Linked DNA regions of Homo sapiens: region 1 is linked to region 2. The links are contacts of gene promoters, found by promoter capture Hi-C in blood cells and fetal thymus (Javierre and others, 2016). All regions are on one chromosome and are shown on one strand. The core of a region is centred on a gene start or on the middle of the fragment in contact, and the rest is flanking DNA. Distances in the headings are between cores, read along the strand shown.

Region 1 (5,594 bases), core at 1,561-4,060, about 32 Mb before region 2:
GAGAACCACGACCCTGGCCCAAACGTGTAGGCTGTGGCTGGCTGTTTTGTTTTGTCGTGGTTTGTCTGGATGCACAAAAATGCTTAAGCTTTAAGTCTCTGATAGTTTACATTTTGTGATGTAAGAACAAGAAAAAAAAACTTCCTCCAACCTAATGCTCTCTGCAAACCAGAAACAAAGTAAACAAGCAAAACCTGCTCTGCTCAGCTTCCGTAATTCCAAATGTTTTATAAGGGTGACTGCAGCATTGGCGGCTTGCTATCTCCAGACTGTGGGCTGTCCCTCACAGCCAGGCCATGACTCAGTCACCTCTTGCTCTCTCGGGGTGTCTGCCCAATGGATTTGTCACAGAATCAGAGGCCCAGTGAGTGACCAAGGCTTGCCTGAGCAGGATATGAAAGCCGCGCTGCTAGAATCTAAGCTGGACCGCAGCATAGGCCACGCGCTTTCCATCCTACCTGCCCTGTAACGTGACTGACGTTAGCTGCGGTGGGGCGAGGAGCGCCGTCTTGTGTCCTGAGTTTGATCACCTCGTCAGACCACAAGTTGGAGGTGTGGGTTTCTGAAGTGACAACATCCTCACTGAAATTCTGCCCATGCACTTTCTCTTCTCATTTTGTTTCCACCCACCGTGACCTTTTTCCTCTTTTTCCACCCCAAAGGAAGAGAAATGTCAAGAAAATAACACTACAGAGCACATATGGAGGAAAGGCAGACAGTGCAAAGATTGCAATAACTGTGTTCCTCCAAGTTATAAGATGTGGAAATAAGACAAGTGATGGGTCCCACGTCCAACGTGGCTCGGCTAGAAGGTGCTTTCTGCTTTAATATGTGGGGATTTCTGGCTGTCTCTGGACTGTGCCCAACAATAAGCCCTAAAAAGTGAACCCTGATTCAGCTGTGAGGGCCTGAGGTCCAGCAGCTCTGCACTGTGGCTCTCTGGCCCCACCCACCCCAGCTTGTGACTGGTGAGTCACCCAGCCCAGCAGACACCATCGTGCCCTCTGCAGATGCACAAGCTGCTTCCTGCCTTGCTTTCCTCCCAGAGCTGTTTGCCATAAATGACCACACGTGTAAGAAAGCACATTGCATACTTCTAACATTCGGTGTGAGCACCACGTGTACACATAAACAAGTATCCGTGCGTTTATCTACAAAATAGAAGTAGTCCAAGGATATGGTACAGCTGTTAAAAGGCTTGACAAAATTGAAACACAGTAATGGTGCTTCTGAAGTTTGCCAAATTTCTATGATGATGAAAAAGCTTTTATCCCAGATACAAAACCTTTGTTCTCAGCATCATCTAGTGACAAGTCGATGGGACTAGGCATTAAGAGATGGGATGTGGATTAAGTAGGATCACTGGGTTTTGGTGAAAGACACCGTTATGAGTTGAATTATACCCCATTCAAAAAAAAAAGGTATGTTGGAGACCTAACCACCCCCCATACCTGGAAATGTGACTTTATTTGGAAATAGGGTCTTGTCTATTTCCAAAGAGGGAATGAAATTAAATCAAATTCAGATAAGGTCATGAGGGAGGATCCTAATTGAATACAGTCAGTGTTCTTATAAAAAGGGGAAACTGGGACACAGAGAGACACACACAGAGGAAGGACACCACGTGAGGACTGGAGCTCCACCACCGAGCCGAGGAGCCACTCAGCCCAGGGGCCACCCAGCCGAGGGGCCACCGGAGGCCAGATCCAGGCCCAGCTGGGACAGACCCTCCCCTGGAGCCTTCAGGGGAGCTCAACCCTGCGGACACCGGGATCTCCGACTTCTGGCTTGGGAGAGAAGACCGTCCTATTGTTTGTGGCACTTTGTTATGGCAGCCCTAACAAACTGATACAGACCCTAAAGCGAGAGGGGTGAACACAGTTCTGACTTTGAAGGCACCAAAGCCCACGTTTGCATTCCAGTTCTGATGCTTATTGATGGTGGCACCACCTGATTTCTCTGAGCTTATTTTCTTTTCATTTATTTATTTTTGAGAGGGAGTCTCACTCTGTCGCCCAGGCTGGAGTGGAGTGGCATGATCTCAGCTCACTGCAGCCTCTGCCTGCTGGGTTCAAGCGATTCTCCTGCCTCAGCCTCCTGAGTAGCTGGGAGTACAGGCACCCGCCACCATGCCCAGCTATTTTTTTTTTTGTATTTTTAATAGAGACAGGGTTTCACCATGTTGGCCAGGCTGGACTCGAACTCCTGACCTCAGGTGATCCACCTGCCTCAGCCTCCCAAAGTGCTGGGATTACCAGTGTGAGCCACTGCAACCTGGCTTTATTTTCTTTGTAAAAAGACATGTGTATCTATCTGAACACACAGATTACAGATACAGATGTGGACATAGATGTAGCTATGGACATAGATGTATATAGATATAGATATAGTAATATAGTTTAGATATTTGTCCCCACCCAAGTCTCATGTTGAGTTGTAATCTCCAGTGTTGGAGATGGGGTCTGGCGGGAGGGGTTTAGTTCGTGGGTGAAGATCCCTCGTGGCTTTGTGCTGTCCTCACAATGGTGAGTGAGTTCTCAGGAGGTCTGGGTGTTTAAGTGTGTGGCAGCTCCCCCAACCCACTCTCTCTCTCTCTGACTTCAGCTCTGTCCATGTGACACACCTGCTCCTGCTTCACCTTCCGCCATGAGCAAAAGCTCCCAGAGGCCTCCCCAGAAGCGGAGCAGATGCTGGTACGATGTTTGCGCAGCCTGCAGAACCGTTAGCCAATTCCACCTCTTTTCTTTGTAAATGACCCAGTCTCAGGTATTTCTTTATAGCAATGCAAGAATGACTTAACAGATATAGACACAGCTGTGATATGGGTATAGATGTAGAAATATAGAGATATGGGTATGGGTATAGATATTGATATGACTGTAGATGTAGATGTAGGTGTATATGTAGACACAGATAAGGATACAGACATATAATTGGCACGCGTACCTGGGATAACACAGATAAAGATGCTTCCTCTCTCTTCTCCTAGACCGGGAGCTCACTGGCAGCAAAGACCCCACATTGCTTCCTGTGTCCATCCCAGTGACACAGCTGCACCTAGGCACACAGCGGATGTCCTTGAGCACCTGTCAGGAAGGCTGACACAGCCTAACCCGCTTGCTCACTCCTCCGACCTCCCACGTGAATGGTACCCCACCAGCCACTATGGTGATGAACAACCCGAGGTCGGTGTCTGGCTGGAAGTTCCCTGGCCCTCAAAAATTATTTTATGTATGGAACATATGGTTTAATGTTTAAATTCTTTAAACTTGCCCGACATAATTGAGCTCACCGATTAGCCCACAGCTAAGGAGTCCTTGCCATTATATCTATGTCCTTCTCTTTATCTTGTTTCCAGCAGCCCCACCCTGCCCTGGCCTGAGCCCCCCACATCCCCCTTGCTGCAAAAATGAATCATTCCCCCTACCTTCCCCAGCTCTGCCCCAATTCCAGGTCAGGCTTTTGTGCTCCAGAAATCATCTACGGGTTTTCCACATAATGCCCATGACAATTTAGCGTCTCTTACCAACATCAGCATCAAGAAGCTACATAAAATGCGTGGATGTTAAATCTACAGTGAGAGCTCCTGGATAGCTCCGTGCCCCAGATTCGCTAATCAGCCTGCAAACCATTTGCACGCAGGCTTTCGTTTACAACAAGAGCTTACATTTTAGCATGAGGCAGAAAGACAAGAAACTCTCACAGATCTCATCTATTCTTCTTTTCAATTACTTTGTAATTCTACACTTCCATTAAGAAGTTAATTACTTCAACGTTAACCTTCCATCTATCTTTGTAACATAAAACAAAGATTGGATAAAAATACAAGGACTTACTAAAATGGCAAACGCTTATAGAACACTTACGAGGTGGCAGGCGGGGTTTTCAGGGCTCCGCTCATTGAGTATATTAACCGGGATTCCCGTGAGGGCTGTGAGACAAACACGGGCAGTGCTCAAAACGCTTCACAGCCAGTTCAGCTCCACGTTGATTGCTGAGTCGTGGAAACGTGCAAGGGGTCCCGGAGAGTCAACTGTTTACCAACTGGCTTGGGAGTATTCAAATGTGTAACAACGGAACGCTGATGTGCCGGGGTATGTGGCCTGAATCCCACCAGCCTCTGTGGCAGGAACAGCATCAGCCCATTTTATAGAGAAGGAAACTGAGGCCCAGAGACAGGAAGCGACATTCCCAGGGCTCACAGACAGCATGGGTGCAGATGGACCGTGCAGTCTGGTTTCCACAGCTGAGCCAGTGGCCTCTGCACTAACTGTCTCAATTCTGGGACTGGAAATGGACTGTGTGTGTACGTTACAATATTGTTTTAACAACCAGATACATTTTCTGACTTCCTATGAAAGCTTTCAAATGCACAGAAAAAGTGAAAAAGAAATAAGATGAATACTCATGTACCAAACAACCAGATCGACGATTCTTATTGTTCAGTCATATTTACTTCAGCACATACACATACACACCATCCTCACACACATACACATACACACACGTACACGTTCACACAGACACATACATACTCACACACATATGCTGACATACACACACACTCACATACACTCTTGCACACACAGCTGAGCCCTTTCAGAATAAACCACCATACTGTCACTCGAGCCCAGTGCTTCAGCACATTTCTCTTAAAAACATAAACTTTTGGCTGGGCACGGTAGCTCACACCTGTAATCCCAGCACTTTGGGAGGCGGAGGTGGGCGGATCACCTGAGGTCAGGAGTTCGAGACCACCCTGACCAACATGGAGACACCCCATCTCTACTAAAAGAAACAAAAATACAAAATTAGCCAGGCTTGGTGGCGCGTGCCTGTAATCCCAGCTACTTGGGAGGCTGAGGCAGTACAATCGCTTGAACCCGGGAGGCAGAGGTTGCGGTGAGCCGAGATCACGCCACTGCACTCCAGCCTGGGCAATAAGAGGGAAACGTCATTTCAAAAAAAAAGAAAGTCAGCAATAAGTCACTAAGACTACCGAATGCTCAGTCCATATTGAAATGTCCCCAGTTGTCCCTGAGGATGCGTCTGACCACTGCCTGTTGGAAAAGCCCCCAATCACGGCTCACATGGTGAGTGCAGTTGTCACATGTCTTTGGCTGTTTTAATCTAGACTCAACTCCCTGACACACACACACTCCCCAACCCGCTCCCAGCACACTGATCTGTTATGGAGACCTGGCCAATTGTCCACATTCTAGATTTGTCCGGTTCCCTATGGCTTCGTTTAACTGGTTCCTCTGTGGCCTGGATTTTCTGCCACATGGAATTTCAGCCTTGATTGGCCAGAAAGCTTCACAGGGAATACCTCGACTCACAGCATCATGCCCGGAGCCAGGTCCCCTCAGGCTGACCACACACATTTTAATGATAGTCAAAGATGTATCAAGCAAGATAATTCAGTAAAAAATTCTAATGTTAATAAAAATGCTGGCCAGGCGCGGTGGCTCACGCCTGTAATCCCAGGACTTTGGGAGGCCGAGGAGGGCGGACCACCTGAGGTCGGAAGTTCAAGACCAGCCTGACTAACATGGAGAAACCCTATCTCTGCTAAAAATACAAAATTAGCCAGG
Region 2 (6,092 bases), core at 2,971-5,470:
GAGAGACTCCCGTCTCTAAACAAAACAAAACAAAAAACCTGGGCATGGTGGTGCACACCTGTAGTCCCAGTTACTCGGGAGGCTGGAGCAGGAGAATTGGTTGAACCCGGGAGGCAGAGGCTGCAGTGAGCTGAGGCAGAGGCTGCAGTGAGCTGAGATGGCGCCACTGTGCCCCAGCCTGGGCGACAGAGTGAGACTCAAGAAAAAAAGAAAAAAAAAAAAAAGCCTGAACCCTCCTAGGTTTGCTGACTCCAACTTGGACTTTTGTATATTCTCCAGTGTCCGGCCTAGCCTAGAGTTTGGCTTGTTCTCAATAACTAGTTAACAGATAAATAATTCCCCATTTTCTTAAAATAACCTGGTCCCCTTGGCAAAACCTCCCACTTCAAAGCAGCAGGACTGATGTTTGGGAAAATTGCCCAGAAACTGCCCTCCGCTAATGGATCACCAGTCAACCAGCAAGTATTATTGAGGGCTTGCTTTATGCACTGACCTACACATTGTGGGAAAACAGAAAGTAGAAGTTCTTGTTGTGAAAGACTTTTTGATTAAGTTGAAATGAAAGAAATAATTAGCTACTAAACTTTGCTGTGCCCAACAGGAAGTTCCTTGTGTCTAGGCTCTAGTAGGGGTTAGAGAGAAAGTGCTTTTCACCACCAGTCCCCACCCAAATATTTACTTTCTGTGGGTCAAAGAAGAACAATTTTCCATGAGGACATCATGGCAGACTGGCTAGAGTGACAAACTTCAGTCTATGCTGGAAAAGGGGCTCAGGACTTCCCTTCCAACAAGACCTGGTGCTCCCAGCTGTTTTCTCACCTCCTTCCCCCGCACTATTTGATGTTACAAGAGGGTCTAACCCCCCGTTTCCTTAGTTCTTCCAGGCACCTTTTATGAGCTGAAACCTCCTTTGGTTTCCAGTTCTGGGAACTTGCAGAACCTGGTCAGAGCTATTACAGAGGATATCTGTGCACTCCACAAGCACGATGGTCCCCGCAAGTCCTCTGATCAGTTTATCCCCACCAACTTATCCTGCCTGATAAAGGCTTCCCCTTTATCTCCCACTGATTGAATCAGTGAGCTTGGTATTTCACGTGATAAAGAGGTCGGTGGGAAGAGCATAGTCAAGAGGAGATGGTTCATTTGCTTGTGTTACTATTAAAGAAATGGCAAAATAGTCTACTGGTCAAAAGCTGACACTGTAGTAAGTTTTTCTTTAAAACTGTATAAGGACAGAGAATACCAGCCCCAGGAAAGAGGGGCTCCAGGTAGTTTCTGAAGGGGTGAGGGAAGGGTTGCTTCTTCACAGGAGTCAAAGGACAGGATCTCTCAGTCACTTTTCTAAGAAGTGCAAAGAGGGCCAGACAAGGTGGCTCCTGCAGGTAATTCCAGCATTTTGAGAGTCCGTGGTGGGAGGACTGCTTGAGCCCAGGAGTTCAAGACCAGCATAGGCAATGTAGTGAAACCCTATCCCCAAAAAGTAGATTAATTAATTAATTAATTAAAAATTAGCCAGTAGCCAGGTATGGTTGCACACACCTGTGGTTCCAGCTATGCTGGGAGGCTGAGGCAGGAGGATCCCTTCAGCCTGGGAGTTGGAGGCCGCAGTGAGCCCTGATCGTGCCACTGCACTCCAGCATGGTTGTCGGAGTGAGACCCTCTCTCAAAAAAAAAATTAAAGTAGGCTGGGCGCAGTGGCTCACGCCTGTAATCCCAGCACTTTGGGAGGCTGAGGTGGGCAGATCACCTGAGGTCAAAAGTTCAAGACCAGTCTGAACAACATGGAGAAACCCCCTCTCTACTAAAAATACAAAATTAGCCGGCCATGGTGGCACATGCCTGTAATCCCAGGTACTCGGGAAGCTGAGGCAGGAGAACCGCTTGAACCCGGGAGGCGGAGGTTGTGGTGAGCCGAGATCACACCATTGCACTCCAGCCTGGACAACAAGAGCGAAACTCAGTCTCAAAAAAATAAAAAATAAAAAATAAAAAAAATAAAGCAGCAAGTCTAAAATCTGATATGAAAGGGCGCTGCCCAGAAAGGGCAGTGTTACTGACAGCTGCCTCATTTCTCCCTAAGTCTCTGTTCCATTGTCTCGGCCAACCTATGAAAGCACTGACATCAGAATGTCTCATCTCATCTGGCAGGCTGGGAGCAGGAATGACGTCAGACAAGGGCTGGCCAAGAAAGACCAGGGGATCTGGGAACTGCTTCTCTTTCCCAGCCAACGGGAATCTTTCCCAGATGCTAGGGTGCAAGGGCCTTCCTCAACCCCCATCCTCTGCCCCCTCTCCCACAAAACCGCCTATCACACACGGCTTGGTTCATTTTCAGGAAATGAGATCCGACCAGCAAAAGGAGGAAGGCGGGGTGGGGGGATGTGGGGTATACATGCTACCCAAACCCTGCCTCAAAACAAAGCCTCTTGACATAATTAATCCAAGATCTGGCAGGAGTCTACTCTAAAGAATGATTTTTTTCCCCCTGTAACTAGCTCGCTTGCCATACTGAGAGATAAGGCCAGCTGCTTCCCATCTCTCTCTCCCAGAAACTCTCCAAGCATCGGAACAACGCGGTCAAGACTAGGACCCCAGGAGGACTGGAGCGGGTGGGGTGGGGGGCGATTAGTATCCAAGGTTTTGAAGTGTCCCGCTCAGAAACACCTACCTTTCAGGTAGCTCGCTGAGGAATCAGACTCCAGCCTAACCCAGTATCACCTGAACCTCCAAAAAGCCTCAGGTGAAATGAACTAACTTAGAAGCATCACCCAGGCCTGGGGAGAAATGGGGCGAGGGGTTGTCGCGTCTGGAGGTGTGGCCTTCACTTGGGCTCAGGAGCAGACACCCTAATCTGGCCTTGTGGCCAGAAACACGGCTCCCGCCAGGCCAGCCTCGCACCCCAGGGACAGCCGGGCGCGGAGCTCTCTGCGAGGGTTTATCAACTCAGGAAAACGGCTTTTTTTTAGATGGAGTTTCGCTCTTGTTGCCCAGGCTGGAGTGTAATGGCACGATCTAGGCTCACTGCAATCTCCGCCTCCTGGGTTCAAGCGATTCTCCTGCCTCAGCCTCCCAAGTAGCTGGGCTTACAGGCATGCGCCACCACTCCCGGCTAATTTTGTATTTTTAGTAGAGACGGAGTTTCTCCATGTTGGTTAGGCTGGTCTCGAACTCCCGACTTCAGGTGATCCGCCCGCCTCGGCCTCCCAAAGTGCTGGGATTACAGGCGTGAGCCACCGCGCCTGGCCGAAAGCGACTCTTTAATCCAGTCTTCCGCAAGCACCCAAGCCACGCCAGCAGCCCGTGGGAAACCAACAAAGCCAGAGGAAGCTACCCCCGCGCCCAGTCCCGCACGCTGCACGGTATACATATTTACAATAGCCTGCAAAGTTTCAGGCCGGGAACTTGAGCTCCCTCTAGGAGATCCCAGCCCGAGTGCGGATTTAATTCTCCTCCAACAACCACAACAAAGAACAGAGTTTGAGCGCACAAAGGCAGGGGAAGGGGGTAGAAGAGCCGGGCCGCCACACAAAGGCCGGGAACCCCTCGGCTCCCACGCCCCCGGCCCGCCGCCAGTCCGGAGGCCCCTTCCAGGCTCTGGAGTGAAACCTGGATAGTTTCAAATTCCGCGCTGTGCAGAGCAGAGTGGGGCGCCAAGACGCCTTCTCGACTGTCCCATTTCAGGAGAAACTTGGTTCCCGAGGGAGGACCAGCGCGCTGCTGTCCGACCTCGCACCCCGCGCCGCGGCTCCCACCAGCCCCACGTAGGCTCGGCCCTCGCCCCGGGGACTCACCGTTACACCACTGGAATGGGTGCATCAATGAAGTCGCGGTTGGCTTCCTCGGGCGAACGGACGCAGGCGGGGTGCCAGGAGGGCGGGGTGGGAGCACTAGCGGCGTGAGGGGCCGCAGGCGGGGTCGGGGCAGCGCGCTGCAGCCGCCCTGCTGGAGAAGCCGAACTCCCTCCGGAGTGGGGGGCTTTGACGAGGCTGGTGTTCAGCCCAACAAAGAGGGACGAGGAGGAAACAAACAAAGTCCCGCGGAGCACAGCCGCACGGAGCGCACGCGCCAAGGGCCCCGGGCTGGGGGAATGTGGGGCGCCGCGGGGCGGGGGTGCCCGGGCTGCAGAAGCCCTCGGCCGGGGGAGGAGGGAAAAACCTTTGCCGGAGGCTCGGATCGGGTTCAGCGGCGCAGAGGTGAGCTGGCTGGGGTTCCGAAACTGACACCCGGCGGTGCACACCCCCTCCCTTTTACTTCCCCCACCAGTCCCCAGGAAAACTCCGCCCCTTGTTCGTCACCCTCCCTCCGACCAATCGGAGCCTTTCTCCTGCCCCCGGCTATTATTTGCAGGCCCAGCCTCCCTTCCCTGGAAGCCGGGAGGATCTTCGCACGGTGGGCGCCTCCCACTTAGTCTTCCCAGGCCTGGGGAAACTTCGGTCTGCAGAGAATGGAGCGGCGACGAGCGATGCCCCGGAGTGGGGGCCTGCCTTTTGCCCAGGGACACCAAGGCAAAGGAACAATTACTGCCACATTGTTTTCCGCCTACAGATCTGTTATTTATTTACTTATGTATTTGGAGGCAGAGTCTGCCTCTATCGCCAAGGCTGGAGTGCAGCGGCGCGATCTCAGCTCACTGCAACCTCTGCCTCTCGGGTTCAGGTGATTCTCCTGCCTCAGCCTCCTGAGTAGCTGGGATTACAGGCGCTTACCACCATGCCCAGATAATTTTTGTATTTTTAATAGCGACGGGGTTTCGCCATGTTGGACAGGCTGTTCTCGAACTCCTGGCCTCAAGTGATCCTCCTGCTTCAGCCTTCCAAAGTGCTGGGATTATAGGCGTGAGCCACCGCTCCCGGCCCTCTTTTTCTTTTTTGAGTTAGAGTCTTGCTCTGTCACTCAGCTGGAGTGCAGCGGTGCAATAATAGCTTACTGCAGCCTCCAACTTCTGGGCCCAAGCAGTCCTGCCACCTTAGCCTCCCAAGAAACTGGGACCACAGGTGCCTGCCACCAAGCCCAGCTACTTTTTAATTGTTTTGTATAGATGAGTGGCCTCACTATGTTGCTCAGGCTGGTCTCGAACTCCTGGACTCAAGTGATCCTCCCGCCTGAGCCTCCCAGATTGCTGGGATTACAGGCATGAGCCATGGCACCCAGGACATTTCATTTCTTAATTGGATAATTGCAAAAGCTTCCTAACTGGCCATTCTGATTCTAGTCTATAGCTCAGACTTCAGAGCCTACAAGAATCACTCCTATGTTTGAGATGTAACATGCAGATTCCCAGGCCTTGAACCCAGAGATTCTGATTCAATAAAGGGTGGACCCAGAAATTTTCATTTTAATGTGCCTTGTCTTCCCCACCCCTCAAATTCTCATGCGGCTATTGAAAGAAACAGTGCTCTGATTTCACTCTCAAGTCCATCCCTTCTGGTCACAATTATCTCTGTAAAATGTAAATCTGAACATTTCTTTGCTTGATAACGTTTGTTGGTCTCCAGTGTTTACTGAATAAAGTTCTGTAAACTAGAGTGTGGCATTCAAAATGTTTCAGTCTAGACTCACTCCTATAATCTCAAAACTTCGGGAGGCTGAGGCGGGCAGATTGCTTGAGCTCAAGAGTTTGAGACCATCCTGGGCAACATGGTGAAGCCACCTGTAAAAAAAATACAAAAATTAGCTGGGCCTGGTGGTGCGCACCTGCGGTCCCAGCTACTCTGGTGGCTGAGGTGGGAGAATCACTGGAGTTCGAGAAGTCGAGGATGCAGCTGCAGTGAGCTGTGATTGTGCCACTGCACTCCAGCCTGGGCGACAGAATGAGACTACTCTGTTTCAAAAAGAAAAAAGAAAAAACTATTAAAATAAAGTGTTTCAGTCTAGCCTTATTTGTTTCAGTCTTCCTCATACTCAAATACTCCCCTTCACCACACACTATTCATCAGCCATGAAGCTTTTTGTTGTTACTCTTCCTTGAACATAGGCTGTGTATATTCTTTTTTGTTGTTGTTTTTATTTATTTAGAGACAAGGTCTGGTTCTGTTGCCCAGGTTTGAATGCAGTTGCATGATCTTGGCTCACTACAACCTCCACCTCCTGGG

What was found. Contacts are between HindIII fragments. The CHiCAGO score rates a contact against its expected background, and 5 or more counts as called.
Region 1: a contact is called between a fragment that was not itself captured here and the fragment with the promoter of RNF122 in region 2, in 1 of 17 cell types (M2 macrophages). The highest score is 6.4, in M2 macrophages.

What each region holds. Positions count from the first base shown.
Region 1 is chr8:1,745,348-1,750,941 of GRCh38, forward strand. It overlaps LOC105377778 (a long non-coding RNA gene), which reads right to left. Exons shown (of 4, transcript XR_007060784.1): 3 at 2,947-3,057. Among named protein-coding and RNA genes, the nearest start is that of CLN8, 16 kb to the right of the region's middle. The HindIII fragment of the contact is 3,097 bases long and covers 1,263-4,359 here.
Region 2 is chr8:33,562,908-33,568,999 of GRCh38, forward strand. RNF122 (ring finger protein 122) reads right to left here and starts at 4,221. Exons shown (of 6, transcript NM_024787.3): 1 at 3,792-4,221. The coding sequence starts at 3,816. RefSeq lists silencers at 3,596-3,645, 3,786-3,835, 3,866-3,935, 3,986-4,105. The HindIII fragment of the contact is 8,620 bases long and covers 1-5,183 here.